Regions from separate parts of the Homo sapiens genome. Here regions 1, 2, 3, 4 and 5 are each linked to region 6. The links are contacts of gene promoters, found by promoter capture Hi-C in blood cells and fetal thymus (Javierre and others, 2016). All regions are on one chromosome and are shown on one strand. Each heading gives the region's core, a stretch centred on a gene start or on the middle of the fragment in contact. The rest is flanking DNA. Distances are from core to core; before and after follow the strand shown.

Evidence for each region. The method cuts DNA at HindIII sites, captures the fragments that hold promoters and counts their contacts. A CHiCAGO score of 5 or more calls a contact.
Region 1: a contact is called between the fragment with the promoter of AGTRAP here and the fragment with the promoter of SRM in region 6, in 6 of 17 cell types (total B cells, naive CD4 T cells, naive B cells and 3 more). The highest score is 6.7, in total B cells.
Region 2: a fragment that was not itself captured here is called in contact with the fragment with the promoter of SRM in region 6 in 1 of 17 cell types (M1 macrophages); the score reaches 5.2 in M1 macrophages.
Region 3: a contact is called between a fragment that was not itself captured here and the fragment with the promoter of SRM in region 6, in 1 of 17 cell types (naive B cells). The highest score is 5.7, in naive B cells.
Region 4: a fragment that was not itself captured here is called in contact with the fragment with the promoter of SRM in region 6 in 14 of 17 cell types (endothelial precursors, M0 macrophages, total B cells and 11 more); the score reaches 13.4 in endothelial precursors.
Region 5: the fragment with the promoter of C1orf167 here is called in contact with the fragment with the promoter of SRM in region 6 in 4 of 17 cell types (erythroblasts, naive CD4 T cells, naive CD8 T cells and 1 more); the score reaches 9.5 in erythroblasts.

What each region holds. Positions count from the first base shown.
Region 1 is chr1:11,734,527-11,739,255 of GRCh38, reverse strand. It overlaps AGTRAP (angiotensin II receptor associated protein), which reads right to left and starts at 3,120. Exons shown (of 5, transcript NM_020350.5): 1 at 3,021-3,120. The coding sequence starts at 3,047. The HindIII fragment of the contact is 3,809 bases long and covers 2,016-4,729 here.
Region 2 is chr1:11,660,042-11,664,928 of GRCh38, reverse strand. FBXO44 (F-box protein 44) reads right to left here. Exons shown (of 6, transcript NM_033182.7): 6 at 1,602-3,799. The coding sequence ends at 3,656. FBXO6 (F-box protein 6) reads right to left here and starts at 729. Exons shown (of 6, transcript NM_018438.6): 1 at 674-729. RefSeq lists an enhancer at 154-203 and silencers at 324-393, 444-663. The HindIII fragment of the contact is 1,019 bases long and covers 2,233-3,251 here.
Region 3 is chr1:11,710,402-11,714,934 of GRCh38, reverse strand. DRAXIN (dorsal inhibitory axon guidance protein) reads right to left here. Exons shown (of 7, transcript NM_198545.4): 4 at 2,970-3,084; 5 at 2,506-2,595. Among named protein-coding and RNA genes, the nearest start is that of DRAXIN, 21 kb to the right of the region's middle. The HindIII fragment of the contact is 3,153 bases long and covers 635-3,787 here.
Region 4 is chr1:11,637,660-11,642,274 of GRCh38, reverse strand. No RefSeq gene overlaps it. Among named protein-coding and RNA genes, the nearest start is that of FBXO2, 14 kb to the left of the region's middle. The HindIII fragment of the contact is 793 bases long and covers 1,451-2,243 here.
Region 5 is chr1:11,760,048-11,764,843 of GRCh38, reverse strand. C1orf167 (chromosome 1 open reading frame 167) reads right to left here and starts at 2,651. Exons shown (of 21, transcript NM_001010881.2): 1 at 2,539-2,651; 2 at 374-513. The coding sequence starts at 443. It also overlaps the pseudogene LOC101060126. The HindIII fragment of the contact is 5,648 bases long and covers 1-4,417 here.
Region 6 is chr1:11,056,860-11,061,543 of GRCh38, reverse strand. SRM (spermidine synthase) reads left to right here and starts at 1,526. Exons shown (of 8, transcript NM_003132.3): 1 at 1,526-1,767; 2 at 2,199-2,319; 3 at 2,652-2,744. The coding sequence starts at 1,601. RefSeq lists silencers at 1,077-1,606, 1,817-2,006. The HindIII fragment of the contact is 9,855 bases long and covers 1-4,684 here.

The DNA.
Region 1 (4,729 bases), core at 1,871-4,370, 680 kb before region 6:
TAACCCTAATTCTAGACTACGTCCTGGACCATGGATCCATCATCCTAGGAGGTAGGGACTGTATTTAACTTCTTTTTACAATGAAGAAATAGATACTGAGAGAGTTCAGAAACCTACTCAAGGTCACACAGAAACCTACTCAAGACCTTGAATGCAGACCTGCCTGCCCCCAAAGCCTGTGCTCTGTCCACTGTGCTACACCGTCAGGATCTCGAAGAGCCGTAGAGGGCAGATGGAAATGAGGAAGTCTAACCTGGAGAAGGAAAGGCTGAAGAGAAACCAGCAGGGCATGCAGACCAAGACTTAAACCCTTTGTTTGCCACTAGAGGACCCATGGCGGGGTAGGACTTCCCAGAAATGGAATAAACTCCTACCAGTCCTGTGCAAACACTTGGTGGCCTGTTACACGTGCTAGTGAGATCCCCCAGGGTGGCCGGGGCCCAGGGACACCAGTCAGGGCTGCCAAGGATGGGAGGCAGAGTTGTGCAGCGGTTAACTTCGTGGGTACTGGAGGCAAACAGGTGGATCTGATCCTGGCTCCATGACTTTAGAACCTAGTGACCTTAGGCAAGTCACCTGACCTCTCAGAACAGCTGTTGGCTCTTCTGCAAAGAAGGGCAATACTGCCTGATTCAGTGTTGTTGTGTGGATCCAGTGGTACAGGGAGGTGGAGAGGTGTGGGAAGCGCTCCACACAGTGCCTGTGAGGAATTCAGCCCTCCATCCCAGCAGTCCTCATTACTGAGTTTTTAACCCAAATGCTACACGACTACCTCCTAGACCACCAGATCCTCCTCCCAAGGTCTTCTTCCCACAAGACCTCTGTACCCTAGTCCAGTCCTTTCTAAGCTCATCACAATGTCATTCTTGCAGCTCAGGACCTGGCTTCAAGAGACATGGACAGGGCTTGGTCAGGAGCTGCCCTTTGTGCAAAGGGCCTGGGGCAGTTGTTTCTTCTCACCTGGCACCACTGCCCACTCTGGCTGAGCTGGGCAGAAGCAGGCACTCAGCCCTTGCCCAAGGAATATACAAAACGAGGGAGTGGGGAGGGAGTGCAGGCCACAGGGAGCAGTTCCCCACCTCCTGAAGGGCTCTGAACTCAGAACATCCCCTAAGTGCCTATAAGCAAGGAGTCAACAGCTGCCCTCCACAGGGTGGCCAGATCCAGCAAACAAAAATACAGAACACCCAGTTAATTTCCAATATCAGATCATGAATAATTTGTTAATATGTCCCACATATTGCCTGAGACTTACTCATACTAAAAAACTGTTCGTTGTTGATCTGAAATTCAAATTCACCTGGATCTCCTGTACACGACCTGACAACCCTGACCCCTCAGGGCCTTCCAGCACTTTGTTGTCTCTGACTGGTAGCGGCTAACACCCTTGGAGACTGGGGTCTCGTTTGCCAAGTCAAGGGGAGGACCAGCCTTTTCATCCTGGGTACCGAAAGCCAGCATAGCTCATACCTGTGGATGCTCTTAGCCTGTCAGGCCCAAAAAGTTGCTCAAAAAAAGCCCCAAAGAGACTAAGCCCTCCCAAAGGACAGAAACAGCCAACGTTAAAGTCAGCCCTAAGCTGGTACCCCAGAAAGGACCTGGCCCTGGAGTCTGATCCCTATGGGTTCAAATCCTGATATTGCCACTTACTCCCCGTGGGACCTTGGCAATTTACCCAGTCTAAGCTGAAGTTTGCTCATCTGTAAAAAGATGACCATATCAGCTTTCTCATAAGGCTGCCTTGATTAAATAACCTGGCACACCACAGAAGCCCATAAATTAGAGCTCTGTCCCTCCCACTGCCCTCACCTGATCCTCTGTCAGCAATTATTTTAAGCAAATCCCTCATCAGAGAAAAGGCAGTTGGTGTTAACCCCACATTGCCTGGAATAGAGTGCATATTGATACCAACAAGCCTCGGCTGCTGTCACGTAAATTTCTTCCCAGCTGAACGTTCCATCCAAGCCCATTCCCTTGCTCCAGCCATGTCTCCCCACCACCTTTGACTGGAAGCTTCAGGAAGGTTTGCTGAAGCAAGTATGATTAAGAAGGGAAACATGCCTATAGCAAGTCATAGCACAGATGTTGTGTAATAATAAAGTGTATTAAGCCATTGTTTTGTAACCATCTATTTCTCAGGTTCCTTTAGTCCCAGACACCAACAGGGAGCTAAATGCTCTGTCATTCATGAGTAAGAGGACATTCCTGGATATTGCCTCAAAGGAGGCTGCACTAAGACCCAAAATGGCCGGTTTGGTCCAAGGTCCACACCTTCCTGACCAAAACTACAGCCCCTAGCCCCTCTAATGCAAATGGAGCCCAGACACGTGGGCGGCGGGGCTGGGCGGGGAGAAAAAGAACAGCCGCTGGCACCCAGACCCGGACTGAGCTCACGGCTCGGGAAATGAAGACACCACAGGAAGCCCTGCAGTGTTTTCCCCAGTGCACAAAGTTGGGGTTTTCTGCTTTTAAGTAATTTCTGTTGGAGTTCGCGCTTCTTGATTATGAAATAAGGGCGCTGGATGTGTAAACTTTATAAAACCAACTGCTTGGGAACATCTGATTTCCTTAACCCGACTTAGCAAACAAGGAGGCTCCTGAAACGGTGCTGGGACCCGGGGGGCAAGCCCAGTCCCTGACCCCGCGCGGGGGAGGTGAGCCGCCTACAAGCCCCTCCCGCGCACCTTCCTCCTCCTCCAGGGGAATTCTGGGCGTGCAGGCAACAGCAATGCTGGGACCGGCGCTGCCCGCTGGGAGGGTCTGAGTCCGGGAGGGGGCGGCCCTTGCCCTCCGCTGCCACCTCCCACGGCCCCTCAGTGTCGCCCTGCTGGCCTGTGCCTGGATCACTCTCCCTGCTGTGGCCTGCCTGCCCATCTCCTTCTTGCGTGGGGTCTGTACCTTCCCTTCCTCCCTACCATCCCTCTTTCCCCAAAACTCCGGTCCTTCCTCCCACCTTCCGGGAAAATGCAAATGTCCCACTTCCTCCCGCAAAGGGGACCCTCCCCCCAGCCCGTCGCCACCTTCAGGTTCACAGCAGGCAGCTCCATCCCGACTCAGGCCGAGGGCACCTGCGCCGCAGCCGCGGGGGGCTCCTAGGCTCCGAACTCGGGGAACAAACTTGCCCGGCCCCGCCCCGCCCCGCCCGTTGCGGCCACTCCAACCCCAGCGCAGCTCAAGACCACGTGAAACGGGCTGGAGCGGGTCACGTGACCGCCGCTTGGTTGCTAGGAGACGGCGTCGGCAGCTCGCGCCTTCAGCCAAGCTCCAGACTCCCGCCACCGCCCAGGCAGTACTTGGGGGCCGCTGGCGAAAGTTGGAGTTTCTGTCGCCCAGGGCGTATCCTGCCTGGCTAATATTCCAGGAAGCGGACTGTTCGGACTGCCTGCAGCCAGGACAACTGGGGGACCGTCCAGGCGCAAAGTGCTGATGTGGCAACAGCTTGTGTCTCATCCTTGGGGGCACCCTCTCTCCTTCCCACTTCCCTGTGTAAATGGGCTATTTAGGCTACCTACCTCATATGATCCTTATGAGGATTAAATGAGCTAACTGCTGTTGTTAAAGAAAACGTTATTGGGACTGTTGTTAAACCAGTACTGTTCAAGACTTGCTGTAGGGTTATTGCCATGGAGTGAGAGTTTGGGCTCAACACCGAATACAACAAGGACCAAGGAGGGATTTATAGCCAGAGCAGAATGAGGGAGCAGGAATGGAAGATTCCTAGGAGGAGACATCAAGGATGGGGGAGTTCTTGCTAACTTAGCAGGACTCTTGCTGAAACTGGTTTATTATGCAGGCTCAGGCCCAGCAAGGACAGGAAGACACAGAGGTCCAAGGCCGAGGCCTAGTCAAGATGAGGACTCAGAGGAGTCTAACTACGGTTTGTTCTAGGAGAGAACAGTGCCCGGCACTTAGTAAATGGGCAGGACACACAAGCTATTGTTATTACCAACACAAGATGAGGCTGGGCGCAGTGGCTCACCCCTGTTATCCCAGCACTTTGGGAGGCCAAGGAGGGTGGATCACCTGAACTCAGTAGTTCGAGACCAGCCTGGCCAACATGGTGAAACCCCGTCTCTACTAAAAATACCAAAATTAGCAGGGCATGGTGGTGTGCACCTGCAGTCCCAGCTACTCAGGAGGCTGAGGCACGAGAATTGCTTGAACCGGGGAGGCTGCAGTGAGCCGAGATCACGCCACTACACTCCAGCCTGGACGACAGGGTGAGACCTTGTCTGGGAAAAACAAACAAACAAAAAGCAACACCTGAGGAGCCAAATTGGTGGGAGCCCACTTTAATCAGCATACCAAAAGTTTTAGAAAACTCTAGCTGAAAAACCATAAGAAATTCCTCCCCCAATTGTACATGAGGAAAGAAAGGGCTGTCTCCTGCCTCACCTGGCACCTCCCTTAAAGATTGTTGACCACCACATCCCCCCACCGCAACAAGAACATTAATCCGCTCTACCTCCAGGTCCCTTCCTAACATCAACTTTCCTTTAGAGAACACCAGCTTTTGTTTAGTGTCACCTAGGTATGGAAACCTTCAGGGTACACCTGAGCACTTGGTCTTATTCCTAGGGTGGGGGAAACCAGGTGGGAACCTACAAAACTGCCTGGGTGAGTCCTTAGATAATACCAAGACCCATAGTCTCTCCAGATGCAAAGAAAGGGTTTCTCTGGATGGATGAGGAGAGTTTTGCAGGGCTGCAGGGCCCATAGGCCTAACTTA
Region 2 (4,887 bases), core at 1,493-3,992, 600 kb before region 6:
CTCTGGCCCAGTCCGCATTTTCTTGCGCCCCTTCCCCCCCCCGGCCCTGGGCATTTTGTGGTGGGGAAGTCCATGCCAGCCCTAGGAAGCCCTCTCACACCGATCGGGGTCCCCAACTGCCCGGCCCGGCGTCTCGTGCTCGCCTTCTCCGCACCCACCCTCCCAGCAAGCTCTAGTGGCATTGTTACTTCACCGGTTTCTCGGAAACAGAAACTGTGGCTGGGGCAAGGCAAGCGCCGGATCTCGCAGGCGTGTGGGGGCCTGGAGGTCCCTTGACAGTTCTCCGAACCCGGCGCCGGCCTCGGGATGTGGCCGGGGTGGAGGCGGCCGCAGAGCCTCCGCCTGGGTGGCCCCGGGGCCAGGCCCCCAGTCGAAGTCCGGGCCCAGCCGCCCGCGCCCCCCACCCCTGGCCGCCCGGACCAGCGCCCGCAGGCTCCGTGAACGCCCAGGCGCCGGAGACCCCGGCTCCCCACTCGCCCGCCGCCCGTCCCCCCGGGGACGCGACCTGGGCGCAGCGGCGGAGCTCCAGGTCGGCCCGAGCCTACGGCCTCGGCTTCGTTGTCGCTGGGCCCCGCCGCCGCGTCACGCGCTGCGCTCGGTCCCCACCCCCGCCCCGGACCCCGCTGCCGTCCCTCTCGGCCCGGCCCCTAACCCTCGCCGCGGGAAGACGAACCTGGGATCCCCAGGGCCCGGGCCCTCGCTGCGGCCTGCGTGTCCTGAAGCTGTCTCCCCCTCCAGGCGGCGGGCGGCTCAGCACCCACACCTGCACCCGCCTCCTACGCAGGGCCGAAGCTCCCGAACGCGCGGCCGCTCCCCGGACCTCCGCACTAGTTCCTTCCTTATGCGGCCCAGGGCTCCACCCTTGACCCGCGGTCCCCTCCCTAGAGGCAGGACCTGACACCCAGTGGGCTCCTTCTTTCCCTAGGGCGTGACCTCCGCAGGCTTCATAGACTCAAAGGTAAAAAACCTGAGGTGCTAGGAGGTGGCTAACGCCTGTGATCCCAGCACTTTGGGAGGCCGAGGTGGGGAGGATCGCTTGAGGTCAGGAGTTCGAGACCAGCCTGGCCAACATGGCAAAAACCCTGTCTCTACTAAATATACAAAAATTAGCCGGGCGTGGTGGCACAGGTCTATAATCCCAGCTCCTCCGGAGGCTGAGGTGGGAGAATCGCTTGAACCTGGGAGGCTGCAGTGAGTGGAGACTGTACCACTGCACTGCAGCCTGGGCGACAGAGCCAGACCTTGTCTCAAAAAATAAAAAACCTCTGAGGTTTTTTATCAGGATTAAGTTCATGAATTTCTTCCATCAGTCAACAAATATTTAGCAAGCACCTTGTTCAGGCAACCACCAAGGGTTGTGCAGGCTGTGTACTGCACAAGGGGACTGGCCCAGGACACATTAATTGCAGTCAGGGCTACATGTTCTCCGTGGAAGGCCGTCCTTTTGCAGTTTGCCATGGGCTGGTGGGTGGTGATCCTGCCCTGGCCAAAGCCCTTATCTAGCTCACCCTTGACTGAGATAGCTAAATGTGAGGAGTACTTATTGAGCACTGGATTATAGTCCATGTTCACACTGCTATAAAGAAATACCCGAGACTGGGTGATTTATAAAAGGAAAGAGGTTTAATTGACTTATAGTTCCATATGGCTGGGGAAGCCTCAAGAAACAATCGCTGGGCGCGGTGGCTCACGCCTGTAATCTCAGCACTTTGGGAGGTCGAGGTGGGTGGATCACGAGGTCAGGAGATTGAGACCACCCTGGCCAACATGGTGAAACTCCATCTCTACTAAAAATACAAACAAAATTAGCCGGGCATGGTGGTGGGCGCCTGTAGTCTCAGCTACTCCAGAGGCTGAGGCAGGTGAATGGCGCGAACCTGGGAGGCAGAGCTTGCAGTGAGCTGAGATTGCGCCACTGCACTCCAGCCTGGGCGACAGAGCGAGACTCCATCTCAAAAAAAAAAAAAAAAAAAAGAAAAGAAAAGAAAAAAGGAACTTACAATCATGGTGGTGGAAGGTGAAGGGGAAGCAACGACCTTCTTCACATGGCGGCAGGAGGGAGCCGGGGAAACCGTCACTTGTAAAACCATCAGATCTCGTGAGAACTCACTCACTATCATGAGAACAGCATGGGGGAAAACCGCTCCCATAATCCAATCACTTCCCACCAGGTCTCTCCCTAAACACCCAGGATTACCATTCAAGATGAGATGTGGGTGGGGACACAAAGCTTAACCATATCACGCACCAACTGTGTGCCAGGCACCATTCTAAATGCTTCGGCTTCATCCAATGTCCGTAAAGCTGTTGGCAAAGAGTAACACCAGGAGGCAGAGCCTGGGTGGCACTGCTGATCTGGCACAAGGTGGACTCAAGAGCTGCCCAGAGATGTCCACACACCCCAACCCCAGCCTGTGGCTGGGCCTCCAGAGGAAGCCAGCAGTACTGGACGGCTGCCAGGTGAGATACCTGCAGCTCACTGAGGGGTCTGCCCATGAACCTGTTTCTGTGATGGCCTGGTTCCTGAAATGCCAACCCCTCTGTACCTTAGACAGAAGCCATGCCATTGTACCATCTGCAGGTCCAGGCAGGACCACCTAAAGTCTGCCTTTCCTTCCAGAAACCACAGGGCACAGGTTAGACTGGGCACACCTTTTATTTGGCTGCATGCAGTAGGGCGAAGTCAGGAGAACACTGCTATCTTTCCAGCAGGACAAGAGGCAAGTTCCAAGGGTGGTTGGCTGGGAGACAGAGGTCTTGGGAATGGCAGTTCTAGGGGTGGGGTGGGGGCTTGGAATGCTCTCCAAGCCAGAGGGGGCCGGGCCTGGATTTGGGAGGTGGACAGGGGATTCTTCAAACCCCCTACCATACTCATCCAGGGCTCATGTGTCCAGCTGTCAGAGCAGGTCCCAATCCTGCTCCCCATCTACCCTGGGACATCCTGTACAGGATTCCCTCAGTCCTCTGGGAACCTAACCCCACCTGGTACCCATCTAGCTTCTGGGGCTCCACTGACAGTGAGGACAGTCCACACCCGACCTGGACCCCACCCCACCCTGGGTCTGTCCATCTCAGTCCCGGCCTGAGCCTCTGGGCCAAAGCCACCTCTTCTGAGCAGGCAGGCAGAGCGAGAGACTGGGAGCAGCAGACAGGGGCAGAGCACGGCCCATGAGCCCACCCTCCACTTCCCAGATTGGTCAGAGTTACATGGTCACCTCCCTGCACCTGCACCATCAGGGCAGCTGCAAGCTTGCCAGTTGTCTTGCCTGTCCCTGCTCCGAGGGTCAAAGAACACAGGTAGAATGGTCCCAGGAGGGGAAGGGAGAGACAGATCCAGGCTGGCCTCCAAGCTCGACTTTCTGAGGGGCCCAGGGGAACATGCTGCACCTCCCACATCTCAGGTGCTCCGTCTCTGAAAGGGGCACACGCAGGCTTCCCCGGCCATCATTCAGGTCAAGACCTTTCGGGGAGAGCTGGCCCGACCCCAGCATGCGAGGGCTGCCCACACTGAGAGGCTCCACAAAGAAGAGGCTGCTAGGGGCAAGGGTTAGAGGTCTGGGGACACCTGGCCTCCACCTCCCCTTCCCAAGCCCAGCCCTTTTCTGACAGCAGTTGTTTACCAGTCAGGGTTCAGCAGATGGGGGCTCAGGGGGTGTCAGGGCAGCGGGGGCCCGATGGTGATGCTGCTGTTGGTGACCCTCGGGCCGTACCAGCCGGCCCAGTAATGAGTGTCCACGCCGCCGTGCTGAAACCAGATGTAGCGGACGCCGGGCGGGTAGTTGGAGAATGTGTGGGAGACCTGGCAGGGCAGGTAGAGGGGGGAGAAAGGTCAAGGGAGCTGACTCAGGCTGGGTGTGGCGGCTCACACCGGGAATCCCAGTACTTTGGGAGGCTGAGGTGGGAGGGTTGTTTGAGCCCAGGAGTTTGCAACTAGTCTTGTCGCAAACCAGAGAGTGAGATACCATCTCTACAAGAAAAAAAAAATTAGCCAGGCATGGTGGTGTGTGCCTGTAGTTCTAGGCAGGCTGAGGCAGGAGTACAGGCTAAAGTAGGAGTTCAAGACTGCAGTGAGCTGTGATCACGTCACTGCGCTCCAGCCTGGGCAACAGAGTGAGACCGTGTCTCTAAAAAACAAAAGAAATAAAAGATGAGCCTTAACAAAAAGGGTGGGAGCAGACTCTGAGTGTGGCACTGCCTGAGGGGGGCAGGGGAACAAGGAAGGGGCTGAGTTCTTGGTGCCAGCTAGAAATCAGTGGAGTTCTAGTTTGAACTCTGTGATTTGGGACAGACCAATTCCTTTCTCTGTGCTTCAGTTTCCTCATCTATAAAATGGAGCAAAATCCTGCTGGTCTACTCCACAGGATTATCATTCAGCCCAAAGGAATGGAAAGAAACTGCAAGCTGCCAAAGGATGTCCAATATACTCATCACGGGGCACATGTATTATTTAGGTTAAAATTAAGTAAAAGTGCCCGGCGCGGTGGCTCATGCCTGTAATCCCAGAACTTTGGGAGGCTGAGGCGGGTGGATCACCTGAGGTCGGGAGATGGAGACCAGCCTGACCAACATGGAGAAACCCCGTCTCTACTAAAAATACAAAATTAGCTGGCGTGGTGGCGCATGCCTGTAATCCCAGCTACTCAGGAGGCTGAGGCAGGAGAATCGTTTGAACCGGGAGGCAGAGGTTGTGGTGAGCTGAGATCGCGTCACTGCACTCCAACCTGGGTGACAGAGCGAGACTCCGTCTCAAAAAAGAAAAAAAAATTAAGTAAAATTAGATGAAATAAAAAATTCAGGTACTCAGTTGTACTAGGAACTGGCTCTTACTAACTGTTCAGTGGTCACATGTAGCTACTGGCTACCTTATGGATAGCATAGACACAGACC
Region 3 (4,533 bases), core at 962-3,461, 650 kb before region 6:
AAGGGTCGGTGGCAGAGACCCCAGCTGCCTCAGATGGGGTACTGATTGACCATGGGAAGAGCGAAGGTGGTGTGAGGTCTCCTCCCAGACAGAGCCAGTAGAACAGCTGGGGGCTGCCAGGTGTGGAGTCAGCTCAGAGCTGGGAGGGGCCTCAGGATCCCCAAAACCAATGTCCTCTTTTGACAGATGGGGAAACTGAAGTCCTGGGCACCTGCCATGGAGCCGGCTCCCAGAGCGACTGTCCAGTCGGCCCAAATGCGGGCCTTTTCTTTGTGCCCAGGGTGAAAACAATGGTTTGGGAATGAAGCAGCCTGTCAGGGAGCTGGTGGTTTGCCTTATACAATGCTAATTGCTGGTTTGGTTGCTGTTTTGTAGAATATTCTGGTCACTGATCTAACAATCGTGGTGCCGTGGAGGTGTGCCGCTCCGATCTCTCTTGGGGAAAGCACTTGCTGGCGGCCTCCAGCTGGTACAGCTTCAGGGCCACCTTGGCCCATGGCAGGCTGTTCCCAGCAGCCCCTGCCAATGACGGGCATGGGGGTTCTGGGGCCCAGCCATTTCTGCTCAGCACGGGCCTCGTCTAACAGGCCACCTCTGTACTGGAGCGCCCATCCGGTGCATGATGTCTGAAGCTTCCTCCATGCTTCCTCCACCTTTCGTCATTCACAAGTGTTTCCCACCCCTAGCCCACCCCAAAATAAATCTGTTGTGCTTTTTGTTTTGTTTTGTTGAGACAGGGTCTTGCTCTGTCACCCAAGCTGGAGTACAGTGGTGCGATCATATCTCGCTGCAGCCTTGACCCCCGAGGCTCAGGTGATCCTCCTGCCTTAGCCTCCTGAATACCTGGAACCACAGGCGCACACCACCAAGCCTGGTTGGTTAATTTTTTATTTTCTTATTTTTTTTAATTTTGAGACAGAGTCTCGCTCTGTCAGAGTGCAGTCGTGCGATCTCGGGTCACTGCAACCTCCACCTCCCAGGTTCAAGCAATTCTTTGCCTCAGCCTCCTGAGTAGCTAGGATTACAGGCACCTGCCACCATGCCCGGCTAATTTTTGTATTTTTAGTAGAGATGGGGTTTCATGGCCAGGCTGGTCTTGAACTCCTGACCTTGTGATCCACCCATCTCGGCCTCCCAAAGGGCTGGGATTATAGGCGTGAGCCACCGCACCCAGCCAAGCCTGGTTATTTTTTTAAATTATTACTATTTTTGGAGATGGAGTCTTCCCGTGTTGCCCAGGCTGGTCCTGAACTCCTGGGCTCACGGGATCCTCCCGCCTCGGCCTCCCATAGTGCTGGGATTACAGGTGTGAGCCACTGCACCCGGTCTCACACTTCTAACTTACCTCAGTATCTGCTTCCTGGAAGGTCCGACGGACCCCCAAGGGCCCCCAGGGTTTAGGACATTAGTTACAACGTCCGGCTTCTTGTTTTTAGACTGTCTCCATGGAGACGGCTGCCGAACAGTGAGGATGTCACCAAAAGCATCTCCAGAATGCCTGGCAGTGTTGCGATGGGACAAGGACAGCATTAAGCCCTGCCTGGTGTCAGGAGGAAGAGGGCAAGAGAGGATCATCCCGATTTAAGGCAGCATGGGGCTGTGGTGAAGAGGCTTTCCAGCCAGGCCAGGTTGGAGCCACTTCTTAACCGTGTGACCTTGGGCAAGACAGCCTCTCTGGGGCTCAATCACCTGGCTTGAAAACTGCGTTGTTGTGAGTAATGTATTTTTTTTTTTTTGAGACGGAATTTCACTCTTATTGCCCAGGCTGGAGTGCAATGGCACGATCTCAGCTCACCACAACCTCCGCCTCCCGGGTTCAAGCAATGTTCCCGCCTCAGCCTCCCAAGTAGCTGAGATTACAGGCGCACACCACCATGCCCAGCTAATTTTTGTATTTTTAGTAGAGACGGGGTTTCACCATGTTGGTTAGGCTGGTCTCAAACTCCTGACCTCGTGATCCGCCTGCCTCGGCCTCCCAAAGTGCTGGGATTACAGGCATGAGCCACCATGCCCAGGGTATTTTTTTTTTTTGAGATGGAGTTTCCCTCTTGTCGCCCAGGCTGGAGTGCAGTTGCATGATCCCAGCTCACTGCAACCTCTGCCTTGCAGGTTCAAGCGATTGATTCTCCTGCCTCATCCTCCCGAGTAGCTGGGATTACAGGCATGTTCCACCATGCCCGGATAATTTTTATATTTTTAGTAGCGATGGGGTTTCGCCATGTTGGCCAGGATGCTCTCAAACTCCTGACCTCAGGTGTTCCACCCGCCTCAGCCTCCCATAGTGCTGGGATTACAGGTGTGAGCCACCGTGCCTGGCTGTGAATAATGTATGAAATGAATGGATGTCTGACAGCAACTCTCAGGAAAGTGGCAGCTGTTGTTATTATTTATCATCCATGAAGGGTCAAGGATTCTCAGGTCCTGCACATGTGGGAACCCCCACTCCCACCCAGGTTCCCTCCCAGTACCCAGCCTGGTGCCTTGAATGTGGGTGCTGGCTGGTACCTGGCAGGCAGTCTTGGTGATGGTCGCATGGTTCCCCTTCGGCTGGTGATGTTTCGTTACCATCACTGGAGAGTTTACCGCGGTGTTTCTCTGGGGATAAGAAGATCTGTCGTCAGAAGCTGGGGCCCAGCAGAGCAGAGGTTAAGCACAGGGACTCAGATGTTGGAGTGCCCATACCACCACTCTACAGCATGGCTTGGACAAGGCACTGTTGGACCTAACAGGTATTTTCCCTCAGGGTAACATGAGTGGAAACATGGAAGCGTGTGGCACGTGATAAGCATTTGACAGCATTCTCCGTTCCAAGTGGTGTTTCCAGGTTAGGCTCCATGCTCCCCCTCTCCCCACATCCCACCTTTGGACATCTGAAGATCAGACAGGGCTCACTGGGGCCCCCACCTCAACAGATGGTGCGGGAGGGCAGGGCACCCAGGCATGGAAGATAGTGGGGTAGGTGGGCATACCTTTCTTCTTTGCAGAGGGCCAACCATCAGGTTTTAAGTCTTCATAATCGGTCCAGTCGAACAAGGCCATGTCCAGCGTGGGCATCACCTCCCCGTCAGACCTGGGCTGTGCCTGCTGGAGACCGTGGAGAAGGGGGATGTTGGAACCTTCAAATCCATGGAAGCAGGAGTGTGGAGTCCCAAGGTCAGAGGACAAAAAAGAGGCTTCTCAGAGGCCACCTTATCCTCTGCTGGGCAGCCTGGAGTCTCAGCCCAAGGACATAAAGATGGCTGCCGGAGGCTCCTGTTCCAGTGGCCACTAGGTAATTTCCTTCCTGTGCAGCCATTACTCAAGAAGGACCATGCACACACACACAGGTGAGTTACCTACCAGGCCCTCTGAGGAGGGGCAGAGACCACCTGCAGGCTGGGAAGGCAACCTTGCTTGCCCAGGGTCTTTAAGCCCACGAGGAGGGTGTTGGAAGTAGCCCAGCCACTCACTGGACTTTCCCATCCCTTCCTCTCTCTGCAGAGGTTACCAGCAATCCGTGGCACCATTGAGGCCACAACCAGGGCTCAGTCCCACTCACAGCCTGGGCCAGTGGCCCCAGGAATGCAGAGGGCTAGAGGTCCTCAGCAATAGCTGGATCTACACACGGGCATGTGCGAGCACTAGGGCATGGGCAGGAACCGCACCTTCTAGGCTGGCCTGCAGGGGGCCTTGGATGATAAGACGGATAACCATGTATTCCTGGGAAATGGTCTGCAGCTTTTATCACAATCTCAAGGGGGTGCAAGACCCCAAAAAAGGATAAGAAAGATCTGCTGCTAAAAAAGCTTTATTTCTTTTGTATTTTTGTAGAGACGGGGTTTCACCATGTTGGCCAGGCTGGTCTCGAACTCCTGACCTCAGGTGATCTATTCGCATCGGTCTCCCAAAGTGCTGGGATTACAGGCGTGAGCCACCCACTGCACCTGGCCTATTTCTTTTTTATGTATTTTTTATACATATATATTATTGATCCTTTTAAATAATTTTAGTTTGAAAACCTTTTTTTTTTTTTTGAGATGGAGTCTCACTCTGTCGCCCAGGCTGGAGTGCAGTGGCGTGATCTTGGCTCACTGCAAGCTCTGCCTCCCGGGTTCAAGCAATTCTCTGCTTCAGCCGCCCAAGTAGCTGGAACTACATGTGCCTGCCACTATGCCCGGCTATTTTTTTTTTTTTTTTGTATTTTTAGTAGAGATGGGGTTTCACCATGTTAGCCAGGATGGTCTCGATTTCCTGACCTTGTGATCTGCCCGCCTTGGCCTCCCAAAGTGCTGGGATTACAGGCATGAGCCACCGCGCCCGGCCTGAAAACCTTTAAAAGCCACAGAAGAGGTGCAAGAACGATGCGGTCAGCTCCTATATACCCCTCTTCCAGAATCACCAGTGGGTAGTGTTTTTGCCACATTTGCCGCTTACTTTCTCTCCACATTTTTTTTTTCCCTTGAGACAGGGTCTCACTCTGTCGCCCAGGCTGGAGTGCAGTGGTGCAATCATGGCTCACTGCAGCCCTGACCTCCTGGGTTCAAGCGATCCTCC
Region 4 (4,615 bases), core at 598-3,097, 580 kb before region 6:
AGTCTAGAACCCCCCCAAGTCCATCTCCACCTCGGCAGAGCCCTGGGCCTTGCTTGATGGTGCCAGGCCTGCAGTGAACACAGAACACCCAGACAGATCCAATCCTGAGTTCCTGGTGCATAATGACTTTGCTATTTCCCACCACCGTAAATTAAACCTAATCTTGTGTTGACTCTGCTGAACAAGGAGAATAATGAAGAAGATTAAGATGAGATGGTATTCATTCTCCTCCAACAAAAGCCAATTAATTGTCAGTAGGATTACTGCCTGGAGCCAGGAGCTGCTTGCTAGGAGCTCTGCAGACAGGATGGAACAGGGCTGAGGGCCATTCGCTAGGGTTGCCACTGGGGTCTGCTGGTCATGCAGCAGGAAATATTGCAGGTAGATGTTAGGGAGAACTGCCAGAATGAAGGAGGGGGCTGGCACCAAGGAGGAGGGTGCAAAGAGCTTGGAATCACTCACAGAGGTGATGTTTCTAAGGCGTGGAGGGGAACGCTGTGGAAGTTCCCAGCCACCTGACCATGTCCATCCGAGGCCCCCTGGGACCTTCCCCTGACCATGTCCATCCGAGGCCCCCTGGGACCTTCCCCTGCCTTTCTGCGGTCACCTTTGATGAATGAAGCTGCATTCAGGGGTCTCTGGCTTCCTCCCCACTCTGCTTTTTTTCCTCCCTTCCTCTCCTAGGAATCAGGGAGGCCATTTGTCCAGTGTTAACAGCTTGGGTTTAGAGACAGAAACATGGCCAGGCGCGGTGGCTCACGCCTGTAATCCCAGCACTTTGGGAGGCTGAGGCGGGTGGATTGCTTGAGGTCAGGAGTTCCAGACCAGCCTGGGCAACATGGTGAAACCCCGTCTCTACCAAAAATACAAAACAATTAGCTGAGCCTGGTGGCACACGCCTGTAGTCCCAGCTACTTGGGAGGCTGAGGCATGAGAATCGCTTGAACCTGGGAGATGGAGGTTGCAGTGAGCAGAGATCGCACCACTGCACTCCAGCCTGGGTGGCAGTGAGATTTTCTCTAAAATAAAAATAAAAATAATTAGAGACAGAAACACTTGGGCTTCACCTGGCTTTGCCCCTTGTCCTCAACCACACAAATGGAACCTACGATCCTCACCTGCCAACCTGGTTTGATACTCCCAGGCACTAATGTGCCTCCAGTTCCTGCACCCACTAGATTCTTGGAACAAGACAGTGAAGCTGAATGGAGTGGCCTGACTGCTGTGGGCCGTTGCCAGAAGGTGAGGGAACCAACATTTGTTGGTCTACTGCTGCATTATCTCATCGACTGCCTACAGCAGCCTCCTCGGGAGGCTTTATTTTGTCATCACAAAATTTATTGAAGAGGAAACCGAGGCTCAGAGAGGTGGGGCCCTTGGTCGAGGTCACCAAGCTGTAGGCTGCAGAGTTGGCTGGGACGGGGCTTCTGTCGCCATGGCCCCCAAAGCTTGAGCCCTTTCCTCATCTGCACATTGCTTCGTGCACATGGAAGGCATTCAGTGTGTGCTGGCCGGATGAATGAAACGCTCATCAAATGCTATTTCTGGTCCAGTAAGTTCCGTTTCAGACTCTCCCACATCCTGATAACTCCCAGAAGTAAATGGATTGTGTGTGATTTGTGAAATTCTTCTTGGTAATTCTTGGCAACTCACCTACCTCACTACTACTGTGAAGAAAACTCTACCCTCCCATCCAGATCTAAGTTTGCTTCATTTACTCGGATTGATGAGGTTTTTTTTTTTAATTTTTTTTTATTTTTTTTTATTTTCTGAGCATGGCAAAAGTAGCCTCAAAGTCCAGTTTTACAATCTATGCTATCTCAGCACACGCTGAGCACTCACCATGTGATAGGTGTGTTCAAAACATCACCTGTGTATGGTTTTATTTAATCCTCCAAGCACATCTGTGTGCTATTATTCCCATTTCAGAGGCTGAGATGAAACTGAGGCCCAGAGACGTGCATTCTCGCCCCAGGTCACACAGCAAGGGCTTTGCATGGCTGGAATCCCCTCCAGAGCTGCCTCTCCTCGCCCCCTGTCACCACCTGCAGGCTTTCCTGGGTGAAGTGATTCTTGCGGAGGGATTCTAGTCCTCTGTGCAGACAGGAATTGTGGTGGAGGCCGTGGGCTTCCGGGTTCAGTTGGAATTGGTGGAGTTTTCTGTGTCCCACAAATCACACACTTAGACTCAGCCTCAGGAATTGATCTTTGGTTCATATGTGGAAGGATTTACCACTTAAGCTTTTTTTTTTTTTTTTTTTTTTTGAGACGAAATCTCACTCTGTTTCCCTGGCTGGAGTGCAGTGGCATGATCTTGGCTCACTGTAACCTCCACCTCCCAGATTCAGGTGATTCACCTGCCTCAGCCTCCAAGTAGCTGGGATTACAGGTGTGCACCACCACACCTGGCTGTTTTTTGTATTTTTAGTAGAGATGGGGTTTCACCATGTTGGTCAGGCTGGTCTCGAACTCCCGGCCTCAAGTGATCCGCCCGCCTCGACCTCCCAAAGTGTCGGGATTACAGGCGTGAGCCACTGTGCCCGGTCACTTAAGCATTTACTCAGCACCTTCTGCGTGTCAGCACCTTGTTATGCTTTGAGGATACAACAGTGAACCAATGAGGTCCTTGTCCTCTAGGAGCTCACAGACTAGAGGGAGAGAAGGATCTGGGTTCCCAGTTCTGACCCTCCCCAGGTGTGTGACCAGTTAGTGCCTCAGTTTCCACATCTGTAAAATGGGGATGATTTTGTTACTTACCTGATAGGATTGTTATGAGAATCAAATGAATTAATATAGGTAAGACACTTAGATCAAGGCCTGCACATAAAAGGTGCTACATACAAGTTTGTTAAATAAAATGGACAAGTCTGGCAACTATAGTCTAATAATAGTAAAAGGGTGGTGAGGGGAAGCCTACTGAATTTTAGAGGAGGGACATCTAACATAGACCTTGATCAGGAAGGTTTCCTGGAGGAGGCGGTCCATGGACTCTTGACCCAAGTGATGGTAGGAGGGTGAATTACTTCCCTAGCCAGCTTGTAGCTTCCTGGGCTGTCACTGGGAGCTGCAGTACTAACTGGCCTTTTCCTGGGGCTTATTGTCATAATTTTTCAATGTGCGAAGCACTGTAGTAGCATCTGGATTCGAATAGAAATCTCTGTGCTCAGGGACCTATGATTGAGAGGGTGGGAGGAAAACATCCTGAATATGTTCTAGGACAGAAAAACAGGCCCCCAGACGCTGTGGGCAGTGTGTGGGGAGGTCTCCAGTGGGGCAGGGTGTAGAGAGGCCCTCAAAGCTGCAGAAAGACAAAGATGTCCTCGAAAAAAAGAAAACTAAAAAAAAAAAAAAAAAAAAAAAAAGGAAGGGGGAAGCCGGCAGGGAAAATGATTTTCTCGGCTGGCATTTCTTGGGGAATTAAATCTTGTTTTTCGTCACCACCAAGTGGAATAATCCAATATATTAAAGCAGAAGTCCCCACTCCTATTTATTGCTGCGACTTTGACCTAACAGTCTCGGGTCTGCATTTGGAATCAGACTGTCCCGGGGAGGGAGAGCAGGAGGGAGGAGGCATCAACCCCTTGGATCAATTACTTTCCTCTCCGACACAGGAAAAATGAATTATTCCCCGAAAAGCAGGCACCTCATCCGATGAATTCTGCACTGCAGAGCTGGTGGAGTTCTACTAAATTGAATTTGGTCTTTGAGAGACATTTAAAACCAAGTGGAGTGTGTGTGCTGGTGGGGTGTGTCTGACAGCCACTGGGGCTTCTGTCAGTTGGGGTTGAGGAAGCCCCCCACTTACAGTTCTCTGGGTTCGGGGGCAAGAGGTAGCCATGCTTTCTGCCCCAGGGACCCCCAGCACTCTGCAGGGGCGAGATGTTTTTGTTCCCAGCCTGAGGCTCAGAGAAGTGAGGTTGCTTGTCTGAGGCCACACAGTGAGCTGGTAACCATAGCAACCTGTTACCTTTATGTCCCTGTCCTCTGGGTCCTGCTGAAAATGTCCCCCGCCCTCCCAGGGAACCCCAGGTTGAGCAAGTTGGAGTTGGGAGCTTTCCTGTCTGGAGCACTGGTTCTTCATGTCCATAGCTGTATGACCTGGGGCAAGTAGCTTCTCCTCTCTAGGCCTCCGTTTCCTGACTCAGAAAACAGCGTTAATCACAGTCCTTGTAGTGTTTGCTACTCTATCAGATACAAAGGGCAGAAATGCAATTCCAAGTGTTTTAATCCAAAAGCAAAGGTTCTGGCTCACATGGATGAGAAGCTCTGTGTGGATTTCTGGCAGTGTCCTTTCAGGTACAGCTGGATCCAGAGGCCCCAACAGTGTATTCAGAACTCAGCTTTTCTCTGTCTCTCAGCTCTGTGTGGCTTCATCCCAAGCAGGCTCACTCCAGAAGGGGTCGGCAGCCCCCCAGGCCTATGTCCTTCCACCATCAAGTTCAATGGGTTCACGCGCCCACCTCTGAGCTAGTTGCTGTGGCTAGCGGGCCGGTGCCCTGTTGGGCAAGGCTTGGGGTGGAGTCACCCAGTGAGAACCACGTGGCTGACAGAAGAGTGCAGAGGGTGCTGGGTCAAAAACCCAACACAGAGCCCCATTCCTCACAGGTCTCGACAT
Region 5 (4,796 bases), core at 1,402-3,901, 700 kb before region 6:
ACCACAGGTGATCCACCCACCTTGGCCTCTCAAAGTTCTGGGATTACAAGCGTGAGCCACCACGCCCGGCCCTCTGTGGCTTTCTTAAAGCCTCAGCAGCCTGAGAAGGGATGTCCCCAGGACCGAGCTGTGGGGGCCCCATCTTAGCCAGGGGCACCAGCCAGGCCTCTTCCTGACCTCACTCTCCCAAGACCCCCCTCCTTAGGCCCCAGGCTGGGAAGACTCTGTCCTATGTCCAGCCGACCGTGGGTGGCTGATCTCTGGAATTAGCCAGGCCCTATAGGCTGGCCTGCCTGGGAGGGGGGCTCTGGGCCAATACCTAGAGAGGGCCCTGCTCCTGTAACTGCCCATCCAGGCCCACTAAGCCTCTTGCCTGGCTTCGGGAGCGCTGCAGGCTTTGGGGACACATTCTCCTTGTGGCTGGCATCAGACCTTAGCTCCATGGGCTCAGGGACAGGAGTATCCTTGGTCCACTCCACAGTGAGTGGCCTGGTCTGTTTAATCAGATGGGCCCTGCGGGGAGAGGACAGGTTGCCCTGGCTCTCATTCAACCCCACCCCATTCTGATCCCTACCTCCTCCCTTTAGCAGTACTCCTAGCTGCTCTTGGCCTGGTCCCAGCTGCCTGGGGCCTGCCCCTCACTGTTCTGGTCTCTCAGTGGCTCCTCTCCCTGCCCTACTTATCACCCCCCTTTCCATATTAAGTGTCCAGGTCAAATGCTGCCCCATCCTGCCCCCCAGACCTCTCGGCTGATCTGCATACAGGTCTGAACATGCAGGTCCAGCGACCTCCTCCACGCCTACCCGGATGTCTAACAGGCATCTCAGCATTAATATGTCCAAAACTGAACTCCAGCCGTCCTCGCAACCAGCTCTCTCCCATCTTGGTGCCCCCCTTTTCCACGGATGGCAGCTCCGGCCTTCTGGTGGCTCAAACAAAAATCCTGGAGCCACCCCGATTCCCCTTCTCCCTCACACCAGTGGCTGCTCTGACAGGCTCTGCCTCCCACACGCATCCAGGATCTGACCCCTGGAGCACTGGGCGGAGTGGCCCTCACCTGCCACCTCCCAACTGGTCACCCTTATTCTGCCTCGTCCTCACGCCCGACAGCCTCCTCTTCATGCGGCGGCAGGGTGATCCTGTAAACACTGAAATCAAATCATGCCCTGCCTCAACTCTAATGCCACAGAAGCTCTCCAGCCCCCTCAATGCCCCGTGAGCCTTCAAGGCTGTAGGCCAGAGGTTAGCAAATTACTGCCTGGGCCAGTGGTCTATTATGTGAATAAAGTTATATTGAAACAAAGCCCATTTGTTTACAGACTGTCTGCTTTCCAGCTGCAATAGCAGAGCTCAATAGCTGCAAGATACCTTAGGCTGCAAAACCTTTTTTTTTTTTTTTTTGAGCCGGAGTCTCACTTTGCCACCCAGGCTGGTACAATGGCGTGATCCCGGCTCACTGCAACCTCCGCCTGCCTCCCTGGGCTCAAGGGATCCTCCCACCTCAGCCTCTAACAAGCTGGAACCACAGGCACATGCCACCACGCCAGACTAATTTTTCTATTTTTTGGTAGAGACAGGGTTTCACCATGATGGCCAGGATGGTCTCGAACTCCTGACCTCAGGTGATTGGCCCGCCTCGGCCTCCCAAAGTGCTGGGATTACAGGCGTGAGCCACCACACCCAGCCCCGCAAAGTCTTTAAAATCTGGCTGCCAGTTATGGTCCTCCCCAATTCCTCTTCCCCTTGCCCACTGTCCTCCACACACACCAGCCCCCTGGCTGCTCCTCCAAATGGCACACACGACCTCACCTCAGCGCCTCTGTGCTGCTGTCCCCTCTGCCTTCAAGTCTTGCCTCCCACATCACAGTGAGCCCTCCCTGCCCACTGTCTCTCCAACTGCAGCAACCTGGCCTCTCCTCACTCTCTTTGCCCTGCACTTGCGGCCACCTAACATAGTGAAGAAATTAGTGTATTTCTCCCTCCAGTGGCCTAGGAGCCACACGAGGGCAGGCTGGTTTTTTTTGTTTGTTTGTTTCCCTGCTGGATTTGCAGCCCATAGAACAATGCCTGACCCCCAGCAGGGGCTTGTAAATGCACATTGAATAAATGACAACCGTGCTAGGCACCTTGCAGCCTTCAGCAGGCGTCCTGCCATTTAATCTGCACTGCAGCCCTGGGACTTAGGTTCCCTGTTTTAGAAATGAGGACAGGAGCTTAGAAGGGCCTGTCCCACCCAAGGCCTCAGAGGGAGCACCCCAGGGCTGGCTCCACAGCGCAGACTCCTAACCAAGAACACCCCACCATCCCCTCTTGCCCAAGTTGACTTGAGGCCGCTCAATCCACAGGAGACCTTCCTGCACCCCTGCCCCTCACGCCGGAGCTCTTCGGTCCATTTCTCCGCTCCTCGTCCGTCTCCCTCAGACTCCCCCCTCCCACTCCACCCCCACCCCTGTCCACTTAAGGGGGCTCACAGCCTCCCTCCTCTTGCCACCAAAAGAGTCTGAGGTCAGTTTCCTGCCCTCATGGATCTGCCCTCACGTGCGTGGGTCCTCCTCGGGTCCTCCTTCACCCAGTCGGATTTGAATCTAGACGGGGGCTGGGACCGCTAACGATCCCCGCAGGTCGGCAGGTCGCGGGCGGGAGGGGACGTCGGAGAGCAGAGCGTGCTGCCCCGCGCTTGGCCCCGCCCAGCCCTGAGCCGTGGGCGTGGCCACCGACGTCCTGGTACAGGTTTTGCCGGGTCCTCCGCAGGCAAGGCACGTGGTCCCAGGGCAACTTTTGCACGTGCAAGATGAGCGACATTCTCTTGGCCATCAGGTCCCCGGGAACCTCCTCCACCCTCTGCCCCGAATCCTGTGGCAGCATCACTGGGGTCTGGGCTTCCTCCACCAGGCGTGCCTCCTCTTGGCTCCTTCCCGCACCTAGAGCTGCCTCCTGGAGCCCCCGCACATCTGGGATACCCCCAGCCATGTCCCCACCACCTATGCCTCTTGGGGCTGCAGGACATGCCCCCGGCTCCCACTGGTAGGAACCCCAGGGGCAGGACATCCGGGTCATGGACACTCACATCCTCACCCGTTCCCAATAGGTGCGATGTCCCATCCAGGGATGTCTCAGATGCAGCTGGCAAACCATGGCCCTCATGGCTGAGGACACACCCGTGATGGGACCCCAGGATCTGGGGGGCAGCCACCACCCTGATCACCACCTGGAATGCCTCATCCTGGACCTCCTCCAATGAGCATGTCCCCCAAGGGGTCTCGGTCTGGATCTCCCATGGGTCACTCACGTCCTATGCCTCCATGGTATGTGTGGACCTCCTCCACCGATGCTGCCTCATGGATACACTGGCCCTCCCCAACACCCACCCTATGGCTTCCGGGGGGGACTCTCCCTCCACCCAGACCCACTCCGGGGCCTCCAGTTCCCCCTCAAGGCCCACTTTGGGGCCCTCTCCCTCAGTAAATTCACATTCTTCTTCCTCCTGTTATATCTTCCCAATATCTTTTTGATTCCTTGGACCAGAGATGCTGCAGCTCCTTGCAACTAAGGCACAAATCCCTTTCAGCCTTCCCATCTTCCTTTTTAATGCCATTTTTTTCCCCATAGAAGGTATTTCTTTTTCATGTTGGTCCTAAGTATTTTGCAAATGCAAAGGAAAATAAAACTATAACAAATTTCTTGTTAAAAGAAAGAAAGAAAGAAAGGCTAGGCACAGTGGCTCACACCTGTAATCCCAGCACTTTGGGAGGCTGAGGTGGACGGATCACAAGATCAGGAGTTCAAGACCAGCCTGGCCAACATGGTGAAACCCTGTCTCTACTAAAAATACAAAAATTAGCCGGGCATGGTGGCGGGCACCTGTAATCCCAGCTACTCAGGAGGCTGAGGCAGGAGAATCACTTGAACCTGGGAGGCAAGGGTTGCAGAGAGCCAAGATCCTGCCATTGCACTCCAGCCTGAGCAACAGACCAAGACTCTGTCTCAAAAAAAAAAAAAAAAAAAAAAGAAAAAAAGAAAAGAAAAGAAAAGGCTGGATGTGGTGGCTCATGCCTGTAATCCCAGCACTTTGGGAGGCCGAGGCAGCCGGATCACTTGAGGTCAGGAGTTCAAGACCAGCCTGGCCAACATGGCAAAATCCCATCTCTATTAAAAATACAAAAAGTAGCTGGTGTGATGGTGTGCACCTGTAATCCCAGCTATTCAGGAGGCTGAGGCAGGAGAATTGCTTGGACCTGGGAGGTGGAGGTTGCAGTGAGTGGTGATCATGCCACTACCCTCCAGCCTGGGTGACAGAGTGAGATTCTGTTTCAAAAAAGAAAAAAAGAAAGAAAAGAAAAGAAAAAAAAGAAAGAAAAACTCTCCCAGCCTTCAGGCACCTCAGAAACTGGCTGGACTCCACCTTAATACCCAAGCTTTGCCGTGCCGTCAGCCTAGCTCGATCACACTTCCTTCAAGGCTGCAAAGGTCCGTCCACTTTCCACCTCCCAAACCTTTGCCCACATTGTTCCCCACTGTGCCCAGCCATCCCACTCCTTCCTCTGTCCAGACTGTATGTTTTCTCCTTTCTAAGCACCTGCTGGGAGAGGAAAGAGCACTCAGTCAGAAAACCTGTGATGAACTCCTTCTGCTGGCCAGGCGCAGTGGCTCACACCTGCAATCCCAGCACTTGGGCAGGCTGAGGTGGGAGGCTCTCATAAGCCCAGGAATTCAAGACCAGCCTGGGCAACATTGCAAGACCTCATCACTACAAAAAAAAATACAAAAATCATCCGGCTGTGGTGGTGCACACCTGT
Region 6 (4,684 bases), core at 277-2,776:
TCCTGCCTCGGCCTCCCAAAATTCTAGTATTATCAGCCTGAGCCCCTGTGCCCAGCTGCCTAGCAATTTTTTTTTTTTTTTTTTGAGACGGAGTTTCACTATCGTTGCCCAGGCTAGAGTGCAGTGGCGCAATCTCAGCTCACTGCAACCTCCAACTCCCGGGTTCAAGCGATTCTCCTGCCTCAGCCTCCCGAGTAGCTGGGACTGCAGGCGCGCACTACCATGCCCAGCTAATTTTTGTATTTTTAGTACAGACGGGGTTTCACCATGTTGGCCAGGATCGTCTTGATCTCTTGACCTCGTGATCCGCCCGCCTCCGCCTCCGCCTCCCACAGTGCTGGGATTACCGGGGTGAACCATCACGCCCAGGCACCTAGCAATTCTTTAGCGGTCTTGGTTTACCTCCCCTTTAGAAGGAGCTTAAAAGCAAGCAAGGCACATTGTTGCCTAGGCTTGAGGCTTGCTCTCACCCATAAACAACGCTGTTACTCTGCTCTGGGGACGACACAGGAAACGTTCCCCACCTCCAGGTGGAGGCTGCAAAACGTGTCAAAACCATCCCTGACATAATGTCAAGAGTAGCTTATACTAGTTTCATCTTCCTTCCTTGGCATTCGAACTGCGTGTGGAACAATTAGCATTTAATATTTGGTAATTAGCATGCTTAATGTGATTCTGAGAAGTTCTTTGACATTCTCATAAAAACAGCACATTCCCACCCACCCTTCAAAGAGCAAGACCCAGTTTGTCAAGAAAAATTGCGTGCCAGTCTTTTCTGGTGCTGAATATGTATGTTCTGGGCCTCTTCCTGGACACTGCTGGTAAATTTAGAAACTCGTTTAGAAAAGCACTTCTCTCGTATTCAACAGCCTATAGGCTCATGGCGCAGAATCTAAGGGAAAATGGCTAAATCCAGCTTGTGAATTCGCGGGCTGTGATGATTCTTTCCAAGTAAATAAAAACCCTCGGTTCGCCCCGACGAGCCACATAATCTGTTCAAATCCAACAAGGAACCAGATTTTGGACGCAAAGAAGGATACGTTCTACTCGCCCCGTGCAACAACGTAAACCACTGTAGCCACCCGCTCCCGTGTCTCCAGCCCAAAGGCTGACTCTCCAGTCCGCACGTCGCAGCGCTCTTGCCCTCCACACCAAGCCCGAGTCCCGCAGCCCCTCGAGGCCCTCGGTGCCTCCCAACCCCGAGAAGGAAGCGGGGGCCGGTGGTGCACCGCCCCGGCTGCTTGGGGCGGAGGAAGGACCCGGACCCCTTCCGCCGGCCCAGCCCGCCCCGGAACCCGACCCGGCCGCCCGGCCCCGGCCGGGCCCCACGTGGCCCCTGGAGCGGGCCGCACTACCCTGCTGCCGCCGACGGACGGCGCGCCACAGCCACTCTGCGCCGCTCTGCGAGCCGGTGGCCAATGAGCGCCAGGCGAGGCCGCTTTGCCATTGGCGAGCGCGGGCTCCGCCCCCGCCGGCAGGCCCCGCCCCGCGCCCGGGTTAGGTTGCGGCGCGGGCGGCGGGCGGAGCTGGTCCCGTTGTGCTGCGGCGCCGCGCGGCCTGCAGTCCCGGGCCCGCGCCCCGCGCCGCCCGCCCGCCCGCCATGGAGCCCGGCCCCGACGGCCCCGCCGCCTCCGGCCCCGCCGCCATCCGCGAGGGCTGGTTCCGCGAGACCTGCAGCCTGTGGCCCGGCCAGGCCCTGTCACTGCAGGTGGAGCAGCTGCTCCACCACCGGCGCTCGCGCTACCAGGACATCCTCGTCTTCCGCAGGTACCGCCGCTGCCCGCAGGCGCCTGCCCCCTAGGCTCAGCCCGGGCCGCCTGCTGCCCGCCTCACGGGCCTCTCCACGCCGGGACCCAAGCGGGCTGGACCTCGTCCTGCCCTGGCCCCCTCGCCACCCCTCACACCGCCTCCCTGGGCTGGGGCTGGGACTGCGGGCTGGCCTCTTGGGTGGGGGAGTCGGAGTCTGCGCCCCGCTCCACGTGTCAGCCCTCAGGACACGTCAGAGCCCGAGGAGACCCCGGGTCCCACCCCGGCCTCCACCCGGCGGCCCGCCTGCCGTTCCTCGCCACGTGTCACCATCGCTCCTCATCCCTGGGACCCCTAGGCGGGATGGGGAGACCCTCCTCACCCAGGGCGGCTTGGGGTACGTTTTCCCCACCCCAGAGAACCCAGGTCCCCGACTGTCACTCCGCCCGCAGTAAGACCTATGGCAACGTGCTGGTGTTGGACGGTGTCATCCAGTGCACGGAGAGAGACGAGTTCTCCTACCAGGAGATGATCGCCAACCTGCCTCTCTGCAGCCACCCCAACCCGCGAAAGGTACCCCAGTGTCCCCTGGAACAGTGCCGGACGAGGGGCGGCCCCAGGTGTGCTCCGGGCTCTTCCCAGATGCTGCCTGCATGGTTGTCAGAGAAAGTGCTAGCGAGGCCAGGGGCGTCCCGCGGAGGGGTGGGGGCCGACACTGACGCGGCCTCGGAATCCTAGGGCAGCCCTGGAAGGAACTTCCAGGAAAGGGGACACCGGCACGAAAGCGTTTCCGAGGGTAGAAAAAGATGAGGCCCGTGGGTCCGAGGGGTCAGGGGGTCTGCTTCAGGGGCCTGGGGGCTCCCAGTCCTGCCAGGGCCCCTGCCTTGACTGCCCCCTCCTCCCAGGTGCTGATCATCGGGGGCGGAGATGGAGGTGTCCTGCGGGAGGTGGTGAAGCACCCCTCCGTGGAGTCCGTGGTCCAGTGTGAGATCGACGAGGTGAGTGCCGGCGTAGAGCCAGGTTTGAGTCCTGGTTCTCCCAGCGGCCAGCTGTGCCCTGAAATGGCTGCACACCCCCGAGCAAGGCAGGTAGGGCCTGTTTCTCCATCTGGAAAACACCTGGTCGGGGAGGGTTCAGTAGGAAAACCAGATGGCAGAGGGCCTGGCAGGTGGTGAGGGCACCTGCGTGGCGAGCTCTTACTAAAACTGAGCTGATTTTTTTTTTTTTTTTTTTTTTGAGACAGAGTTTCGCTCTTGTTGCCCAGGCTGGAGTGTGATGGTGCGATCTCGGCTCACTGCAACCTCCACCTCCTGGGCTCAAGTAGTTCTTCTGCCTCAGCCTCCGGAGTAGCTGGGATTACAGACATGCGCTACCATGCCCGGCTAATTTTGTATTTTTAGTAGAGACAGGGTTTCTCCATGTTGGTCAGGCTGGTCTCGGACCTGGCGACCACAGGTGATCCGCCAGCCTCGTCCTCCCAAAGTACTGGGATTACAGGCGTGAGCCACCACGCCCAGCCGACTAAGCTGATTTTTAATCTGAGCCCCAGGCAGGGCCCCAAGACAGCTCAACTATTTGTACGTTACCCCTTACACTCAGTAGCTGCTCACTAAAATCATGCTACGTGCCAGGTGTTGCCCGGGTATGGGGACAGTGGTAGACGACAGATCAGTCCCTGCCCTCTAGGAGCTGATGTCCTAGTTAAAGGAGACATCAGATGGCCAGACGTGGTGGCTCACACCTGTAATCCCAGCACTTTGGGACGCCAAGGCGGGCAGATCACCTGAGGTCAGGAGTTCAAGAGCAGCCTGGCCAACCTGGTGAAACCCCATTTCTACTAAAAATACAAAAATTAGCCGGGCATGGTAGTGCATGTCTGTAAACCCAGCTACTAGGGAGGCTGAGGTGGAAGAATTACTTGAGCCCGGGAGGCGGAAGTTGCAATGAACCGAGATCTCGCCACTGCACTCCAGCCTGGGTGACAGAGGAAGAATCTGTCTCAAAAAAAACAAACAACAAAAATAGAGACATCAAAGGATGGTCTGATGAAGGCAAGACAGGGGCTGGGGGACAGGAGAAGGCAGGGTTCCTGTGAATGCATGGGGGGTGGTCAGGGCAGGCCTCCAGGAGGTGGCGTTTGAGCTGAGACCTCAGTGAAAAGCAGGTGGCCGTGTGCAGGGAGGGGGAGGTTCTCCTGGCCAGAGGTTGGAATTGCATCCTTCTAAAATAGGAAACAGGCCAAGCGCTGGTGGCTCACACCTGTAATCTCAGCACTCTGGGAGGCTGAGGCGGGCAGATCACAAGGTCTCTACTAAAAATAAAAAAAAAAAAAAAAAAATGGCCCAGCTTGGTGGCGTGCGCCTGTAATCCCAACTACTCGGGAGGCTGAGGCAGGAGGGTGCAGTGAGCTGAGATCGTGCCACTGCACTCCAGCCTGGGCAGCAGAGCAAGACTGTCTCGAAAAATAAATAAAATAGGAAGCGACAAGAAAGCCACTCAGATGGGGCGATTTGGTCTGGAAGGAGGGGGTAGGGATGGGAGAGAGGAGCCCAAGCCGCCGGCAGGAGCCAGCTCTCAAGGAGAAATGGAGGTACCAGAGTTCTCCCCGCTTTACACATTATAAACTGAGGTTCCCAAAAGGGGCCAGGTGTGGTGGCTCACAGCTGTAATCCTAGCACTTTTGGAGGCCGAGGTGGGAGGATCGAGGAGTTCGAGGCAACATAGGGAGACTCTATCTCTACCAAAAATTTAAAAAGTAGCCAAGTATGATTGAACACACTTGTCCCAGCTACTCAGGAGGCTGATGGGGGAGGATCACCTGAGCCCCGGAGGCCGAGGGTGTAGTGAGCCATGATCGATGCCACTGCACTCCAGCCTGGGCCACAAAGTGAGACCCTGTCTCAAAAAAAAATAATAAAAAAAAGGGAAGGGGTTGGCC